2 separate regions of the Homo sapiens genome follow, and region 2 is linked to region 1. Evidence: promoter capture Hi-C in human tissues and cell types (Jung and others, 2019). All regions are on one chromosome and are shown on one strand. The core of a region is centred on a gene start or on the middle of the fragment in contact, and the rest is flanking DNA. Distances in the headings are between cores, read along the strand shown. Region 1 holds the start of TANC1 (tetratricopeptide repeat, ankyrin repeat and coiled-coil containing 1). Region 2 overlaps TANC1 (tetratricopeptide repeat, ankyrin repeat and coiled-coil containing 1).

Evidence for each region. The method cuts DNA at HindIII sites, captures the fragments that hold promoters and counts their contacts. A contact is called where the count stands out against the background at its distance.
Region 2: a contact is called between a fragment that was not itself captured here and the fragment with the promoter of TANC1 in region 1, in 2 of the 25 tissues and cell types used here (IMR-90 fibroblasts and hippocampus).

The regions. Positions count from the first base shown.
Region 1 is chr2:158,966,403-158,970,761 of GRCh38, reverse strand. It overlaps TANC1 (tetratricopeptide repeat, ankyrin repeat and coiled-coil containing 1), which reads right to left and starts at 2,122. Exons shown (of 27, transcript NM_033394.3): 1 at 1,980-2,122. RefSeq lists silencers at 2,087-2,166, 2,227-2,336. The HindIII fragment of the contact is 16,038 bases long and covers 1-4,359 here.
Region 2 is chr2:159,070,443-159,074,620 of GRCh38, reverse strand. The region is part of intron 3 of TANC1 (tetratricopeptide repeat, ankyrin repeat and coiled-coil containing 1); the gene reads right to left. Among named protein-coding and RNA genes, the nearest start is that of TANC1, 100 kb to the right of the region's middle. The HindIII fragment of the contact is 4,174 bases long and covers 1-3,347 here.

The DNA.
Region 1 (4,359 bases), core at 873-3,372:
TCCCATCTCTTATTGTCAAATCACAACAGTCCGGAAGCCTGAACCAAGTTCACTTGGCAGGTAACAGGAACAACCCTAGGAGGAAGTCCTGAAGGATATCAGATACCATACTTCCTTTACTGCCACATACTTTTCATTTCAGAACCACCAGGATATATTTATGATGCTTTTTGACTAACACTCACCAAGCATTCTGGCTGACACAAACTGCAGAAACTGGCATACTCTAGGGAAGGTCCCTTGTGAGGTCTTTAAGTAGCTTAGATGAGTAAAACACTCAGACTACTTCTATAATGAAGTAGTCTCAGCCGCTCATAAACTCCTTCATTCCCAGCAATCAAGAAGCAGCTGTTAAAATCCTGGAATCTTCCTAGTAGCAGATCTGAAATACCTCCAGGCTGACCCAGGAAGCTTCACAACTGCTTTCCTCTCCTTCCCCTCCCCTGCCTCAGGAGTGCCAGCCTGGCAGGAATAAAGATGACCAAGGAAGGAAAAAAGAGGGTAGCGGATCTGGTGAAAGCAGAGACGCAGACTCCCTTCATTTCCACTACAGAGAAATACCAGCCCTCTGTGCCAACTAACCAGGTTTCTCCTTTCCTCTCCCACCCCCACCCCTCCAAACACGCATTAACTTCTGCAGTCTGGTGTGTCTGGCATTTCCAGAGCGAGCGATCTCAGCAATCTTGAGCCCTTTCCTCAAAGATTCTGAACCAGGAACTTCCTTTCCGCGCCAGCCAGAGTTTGCGGTCCAACCCACGTTAAGACTCAGCTTCCATTTACCTTGTAACCTGTACGGACGACGCTGCTTCTGGGGTCAAGTTCAAGATGAAAGTTCCCTCCTCACCTCCCAAGTTAACTCCAGCAGGGAACAACGCCACTGAGAACGGTCCCAACACTGGAGGCACGCGGATCTGGAGCTGGCAGGAGGGGGCTGGGAGAAGGCCGTTGCCGAGCCTGGCGTCCTCCGCCCCTTGGCCGCAGCGCCGCGTTTCTACCTGGCCAACGCCACATTTCCTCCCGGAGCTTTACACAATAAGTCCAGTAAGTTTTGAGAACACCGGTCCAGGGACCTTTCTGTCTGCAAACACACCACACAATGCCTAGAGCTTCCTTCCCAGCCAGGCGTTCCGGAAAGCCGCCGCGCCAAAGCCGGGAGCCCCGCACACCCACAGCGCTGCGCGCCCGCACCCCAAAGTCCTCCAGGAAGCCAGTGCCCTGATATCGTCCCCCGAAAATGACCACTCTGCATCCAAGAACAAGGGGGCTCACAATCTTGACAATTACCGCTCTTCTCAGCGCCCCACCCCTAAAGAAAAACCCCCAACGTCTAATCCTAACTCACCCCCACCCCCAATAAAGGAGTGTGGATATGCTAATCGCAGTGTTCTTGGAAGCAAAGCAATAGACTTTCAGCCCAGACTGGGGCAATACCATGCCTCCGGCTTAAGTTCTCTCGGCAACTTCGCGACCCGCGCACCCCAACACTCCGGGGGGCGCCCAGGACCCCGCGGTGCCAGGCGCGCCTCCCCCCGCCTCCCCCGCGCCAGGTACCAGGCGTAGCCCAGGCCCTTGCCAAGCCCGAGGGCTACAGAGAAGGCGGGAAAGGGGGCGAGCGGGCGCGCCGGGCGGGGGTGGTCCCAGAACTCGAGCGTGCCCCAAGCGTTCCCGGTTCCCACCACACCGGTTCCAGGGGAGGCCGGCTCGGTCCGGCGCGGGGGAACCGCGCAAGGAAGGTGCGGACTCCCCAAAGCCGCCGAGAGACCAAGGCCCGGGGCGCCCAACATGTCTGTGCCTATTCCCGGAAAGCTCCCGGGTGTGCCCGGCGGAGGAGGGGGCGCTCCAGAAACTTTCCCACACGCCTTTCCCTTCTCCCATCACCCTCTCCACCCCGGGTCCCTCTCGACCTCTCCGCACACTGGCAGCTGGCCATGCCCGGGGCGCTCGCAGGCCCGCGGCGGAGTCCGGGCTGCGGGAGTTACCTGCCGGGAAAGTTTCCAGCTCCTCAGCGCGGTTCCCCACACCCAGGGCCGGGCCTCGGGGCGAGGCCAGCTCGGCGCTCCGCGGCTGCCTCTCCTCCGGCTCCCGAGGCGGCCGCCGCTCCAGCAGCTGCCACAGCAAAGCCTCCGCTCCGGCCCGTCCCCCCGCCTTGCTCGGCCCACACCGGGGCCTCATTGGCAGCGCGAATCCCCGCCCTTGCGCGTGTTCCCGAAGGCACCTTCCTCTCGCGCGCCCGCCCCGGCCGCGCCTCCCGCGCCCCTCCCCGCCCCGGGCTGCGGCGGATCCAGGGACCGGCTGGAGCGCGGAGCGCGAACTTTCCGCGGGGCTTGGGCGCGAGGTCCCCTTGTCCCGCCTCTCGGCGCCAGGTCCGGGCCTGAAGCACCCTACCATCCCTCTGGGCACCGGGTCCCCCGGGGCTGCGCCTAGGCCCCTCTGGGACCAAAATGAGATGGGCCATAGTCTTTTTTACAGCCTCTTCAAAATCAATAAAGCGACCCGGCCTTCCCTCCTCGCTGCTTTTTTACCACAGCCGAGGAGGACATATGGGAGCAATTAACCGAGCTGGAGTTTCCGTGGACGCTTTGGGGTGGCTTGTGCGGCTTTCTTGGATTTTCTCTGCCTCACTTAACTACACACAAACACAAACACACTTTCTGGGGCCAGAATCAGCTAAATGAGCTGGAAGGTCTAAGAAGGCATCTCACCGGCTGCGTCTTTTTATTTCCCAAAAGGAATGGGGGACGTTCTGGGGCCGGTGATTTCCCGGGCGTCCCTGGGGCCGCGGGTCTGGAGCCTCCTGCGACCGCTCCGGGCTGGCCCGTGCTGTCTGCGCTACATTCACAGAGGGCCAGCGTCGTGCTTCTGTCGGAAGGAGGTGGGAGGGACGGAGGGGAGAGAACACACAAAGATGCTATTATTTTGTCGGTTGGTGGCAGTAAATTAAACTCCTGAGTTCCCAAAATGTTTTGTTATTCTCCAGCAGAGCAAAAACCAGGATAGGGACTAGGGATTCGGGTGTCCTGGGTTCTCCAAGATCCTCCCAGGAATCCCAGGCAGCCAAATTGGCCTAAGGGACTCTGCTCACTTAATACCCGAAGCTCTCTAAGACAGCCTTCGTTGATCTAGTTGACGAAGGAAGGATCAACTAGAACTGCCGCTGCCTTGTGTGGCCAGCGGGAATTGTGCACGGGTCACCCCATTGGTGTGTCTGGAGCAGAGAATAGAGAAGTTGCTGTAAACCGATTTATTGGTAACCCCTAACCTTGCTGTGGCAAACCCGCCTTAAAATACGATTGTGTTTTAAACAAGTTTCCTCATAAAAACTTCAACCTCACGCAGAGCTTCCCTATATAAAGACACCAGCAGGAGGGGTGTCCATATTTAAAGTTCTTATGAAAAGGGACAGGAAGCAAAATGCCACACAATCTCTTTTCATAAATTAAAAAGACTGAAATGGACTGGATTTTTCACCCATAGTTTCAAAGGCCTGATTACTGCTGTGTTGATATTTGAGCAGTAAACACATCAGCGGCCTTGAAGTATTCCCGAAACAAGGCAGGATAGAATATTGAAAATAAAAATACAAACTTAAACCAGAAAACTATTGACTTCTTTCTCCATCTGAAATGTTTCATTGCTGAAAAATATGGTAATGTTTTATTTAATTTATCTTGAAACGAAATCTTTCAACAGACAAAAAAGCCAGACAGCAACCTTAATGATAAAAGAATGATGCAAACAAAAGACAAAAACTCCAAGCAGTCTAACTAATCTGAAATATTAAAATATAAGAGAAACAATCCTAAGAAAATAGACTGGTAAGATTTCCTGCTCCAGACTTCTTTATAATGGGAGAAAGGTATAATGGATGAAATTTATCATTTGTACCACATTTTTCTGGTTTTGGCTCTTCTCAGCTGTATTTCCAAATTTTTGATGAAATTGCTTAGTTAAATAGGGCTTTGAAGGCAGTGCAATTTTTTTCCCTCTACTCTCAAAGCTCCTTAAGTAGCAAGTAGAAAATCACATAAATATGTTCATTACTGACATCATCTTTAAATTATTTTTAGTTGAAAAAGTTTTGTCTTTATAGTTTCAGAAGTCACAGTCACTAAAGAAGTAACTTCATCACTGCCTAGTTAGGAGTATTTAACATTCTAAACAGGCATACAGCTAGCAATCTGAAATGTGCACACAGAAAGGCCCTGTCTCCCCTTCTTCCTGTAGTGTTTATATAATCCAAACTACATATGTTATTATGCACAATCTGATCTCCAGCTTTAAACAGCTGACATTACATACACTATGTTGTACTAAGAACATCAAAGAAGCTCTCTTAAGCTGTGGGTGAAAATAGTACAT
Region 2 (4,178 bases), core at 11-2,510, 100 kb before region 1:
AGTGGGGCGTGAAGAGCAAGCCCTCACAAAGAAACAATGCATTAACATAAATTCCTTAATTTTGGCAAGTGAAATAAAAACACAATCATCAGGAAGACCCTGTGTGCAGGTGGCTCTCTTCCATCCTTAACCTGGAGTCTACCTCCAGGCTCTTAGCCTCTGCTATCAGCCAGTTTCGTGATCTACAAAAACCCAGACAAGATCTCAAACCACTACAGCCACCTCCATGCATGTCTCACATCAGAGACATCATTCCTGATGACATCCCAGGGCATAAAGATCATCACCATGTACCAAATCTAGCAGTTGAAGGCTCCAAACTCCCTTAAAAATGGGCAACTCCCTGACAAACTTTAAGAGTGTGAAGAATTAAAACCAGCTGCTCAGTTGCTCGTTTTACCTTTACCCACTGCACTGTGGTCACCAGAACATAGGACAAGAACAATGGTATTTTCATGGCTGATGAGGTATAACTAGCCTGCCCCTAAAAGGACAGAGGGGAGTGGGAGAGAGAAGACACACAGATGCTGCGTTCTAACTCTGATTCTGGATGTGAATAAGGTTTCTCAATTTGATGCTGATCCAGAGCTAGGGCTACCCAGCTGGTCACCTGATGGCCACCCTCATTAACTGCAAGACAACTGGTTGGTAAACACACCATCCCCTTAAGACTCTTATGAGGAATACTCAGTTTGGATCACCAGCCACGAAATAAAAGCCAATCTACTTCAGAATCCTTTGTAGCCCGTCTCCCCACTCAGGAACTACACTTGCCAGTAGATTATATGAAATCAAGTTTTTTACATTCCTGTAGGATAGAAATAAAACCTTAGAATTCCCCTTCTAGGAAGTGCAAATAGAAAACATGGAAAAGCAAAGATGAAACTTTTTATGGGAATTAAGTTACATATACATGGAACTTTCTGAAAACTAAGTCTGTACAAAATAAGACCTTTGTGTTTTACAGAGGAGTTTTAATAAAAATTTGTGAAATAAAATTAGATTTGATAATTTAAAAATGAACTCGGAATTGCTCATTTGCCTACTACTGATCTAGCTTCCTATGGCATTTATACATACACATACAAAAAGCAGCTCAAGTAAAGAAGCATTGTTTGAGAGTTTTATCACATGCTTTATGATGATTCAGATAGGTGGTGCCTTGCTGGAGATCTTATGCCACAAAAAGGTCTTATTAGTCCAGGGTGACTGACTTCCCTTTCCTCTGGGGTCCAGAGCTTTCTCCAAGTATGCCCCCCACCAGGAAAACAGGCAGTTCAGCATGAAACCAGCTTGGGCCTTACATGTAGGTGCCTAATGATAAACGGTAGATATCTGTTCCCTACTTCCCCTAACTCTTTCATCCTTTATATTTCCCTAAAACACATGGAAAAGCTATGAAGAGGTCGGGGGACAAGGGCCCTCCATATATAAAGACCTTCATTCACAAAGGATGTGTTGAGATAACATTTTATAAACTGTACTTAGAAATCTATTCTCGAAACTGCTTGCCAACTCCCGAAATCCCTTTAAGCAAGGAGAAAAGCCTTTCAGTTTAACTTCATAAAGAGAAAACCATAAAATGCAAGTACTTCATAGAGGTTAAAAGGTAAAATACATTATTTTGAAAGCATAAACCACCACAGGGCAGACAAATGACTCAGAGCTTCCCCAGTTTTGTTATAGGGGAAAGGCTGAAGCTGGGAGAAGAGCCTTTAGTATCCAGAGGAGATGCCAGAATATTTGGGAATAGGAAGTCATGGAAAGAAGCTTCTAGAACATCACTCTTCATCTGAGATCAGTCCTGTCTTCTCCATAACAGAAAAGGAACAAGAAGCTTTTTTTTTTTTAATTATTATACTTTAAGTTTTAGGGTACATGTGCACAACGTGCAGGTTAGTTACATATGTATCCATGTGCCATGTTGGTGTGCTGCACCCATTAACTCGTCCTTTAACATTAGGTATATCTTTTATTTATATATTTTTAAGGGTTTTGTTAGTTCTTTAAGGTATCACACAGTTTTCTCAAGAAAGAAAAGATGTACTGGATATCTAGCAGAGGCCAAATGTCAAGCTAAAACACTTTTGCAGAAAGGTATTCGTATTCAACCCTGACAATACAACTATAAGGTAGTTTAATCAAGGTTAAGAAAATATGTCCAAATTCAAGTTAAATAGGAGGTGATCGAGCAGGGATGTGAGTCTGTGTCCTCTAATTTCAAAGTCCATGCTTTTTCTTGACTTTGTGACATACATGAGGGACAACAAAGAAAATCTGATGAAGGAACCTATCAAACCAGAGGGAACAACCAGCATTCCTGCTCCTATTAAAAATCAGGCTGGGCACAGTGGCTCACGCCTGTAATCCCAGCACTCTGTGAGGCTGAGGTGGGCAGATCACCTGAGGTTAGGATTTTGAGACCAGCCCGGCCAACATGGCAAAACCCCACCTCTACTAAAAATACGAAAATTAGCTGGGTGTGGTGGCACATGCCTGTAATCCCAGGTACTTGGGAGGCTTGGGCAGGAAAATCGCTTGAACCTAGGAGGCTGAGGTTGCAATGATCCAAGATGGCACCCACTGCACTCCAGCCCAGGCAACAGAGCCGAGACTTCATCTCAAAAAACAAAAAACAAAACAAAAAAACACAGAAGTCCCATTCTATGTTTAAATCATGTTCTAACATTTTGCAGAATTTGTTTAAATGCCCCAGTAAAGAAAAATACAATACCTTTATACTGAATTATTTCTGCTTGTTTTGTTGCTTGGGAAACACTTTTGGAGAATGTTAACAAGAAGATACCAAATATCCATAGCTCAGCAAGAGAGTCACTGCACTAAATTCCTAAATAGTCCACAACCACAGAAAACGGGCAGTGGCAGCACAGAATAATCAAAAGCAGCTTCGTATTTTCTACATAAAACAAAGCATCATTTGTATTGAGGCATGTTTAGAAGGTACCACTGAAAGCCAGGCTGCAGCCTGGAATGGCTTAAAATACCAAGTTTAACAATCACATCAATGGCTTTTAAACTTTAGAGGCAAACAGCTTCCTTCTACTTGAAATTCAAAGTGAAGAATTAGATGCAAAGCTAATAGATTAATTCAGTACACACACAGGCTTAGAGACTATCCAATGCCTTAATTAACATCATTACAAGTGTATTTAGCCAACCACCTGGGTTTTAATGAGAGAAAGGTAAAGGTCAAAAAAAAATTTTTTTTTAACAAGTTGCTTCAAACTAAGTCCCCCTACTGGGGAAAAATAAAGCACAAATAATTTAACTACAAATAAAAGACTTAACATAAACAGTTTTTATTTTGGCACATTAAGGAACTATTCCTTAATCAGTCTATATTTTTTCTGTATTTTAATTGAGGCAGTACTGCAATTAAAAGTTCACTGAACTTTGCTGTTCTGCCTCAGCTTGAACCTACTTCCTCACCAATACTGAACAACTAGGAGAATTACAGCGGGCAAAACACTACAGATTGAAGACTGGTGGAAGGCAGAAGGGACAGAAGTAGACAGGGACCAGCCTTCTCTAGAGAGCAAGAGGCCTTGACCACCTAATGCTTCCAGAGTAAGGACAAAATCTCCAGGGTTTAAAGAAAGAACAGAAACACTACCAACTGTGAGCTTTAATTACATCATAGATGTTAGATCAAATTATGTTTCATTTCTTGGAGACCAGTAGAAAAAAAAATATTAGCTGAGCCATTTACTCGCTATGTGGTAGTAACAGCTACCATAATGAGCTGCAATTAGATATCTGTGCTTCCTTAGTTTTTGAAGGGGAGGGAACCTGCCCAATGTCTATGACTGAAGAATCCTCCACAATGCATATGGTGGTGGATAGTAAAGTCCATCTTGTACAAATCTTAGCCAAGAAGTCCAAACACACTCTTCCGGGCTCTCTCATGCAGCTAGATCCGAGGCACGTGAACCAGGTTCGGCCATTTATATGCACCTGCCTCACATTTTCAAATTGTCCTTGATTTTCCTTTAAGCACTTTCTCTTCCAGATGGATTTTTGAATCAATTTTGTAGTGTTTTAAAAAAACACACAGGATTTTTAGAGCCATGAAACTACTCTGTGATACAACAATGGTAGATATGTCATTACACGTTTGTTCAAACCCACAGAATACACAATATCAAGAGTGAACCTGA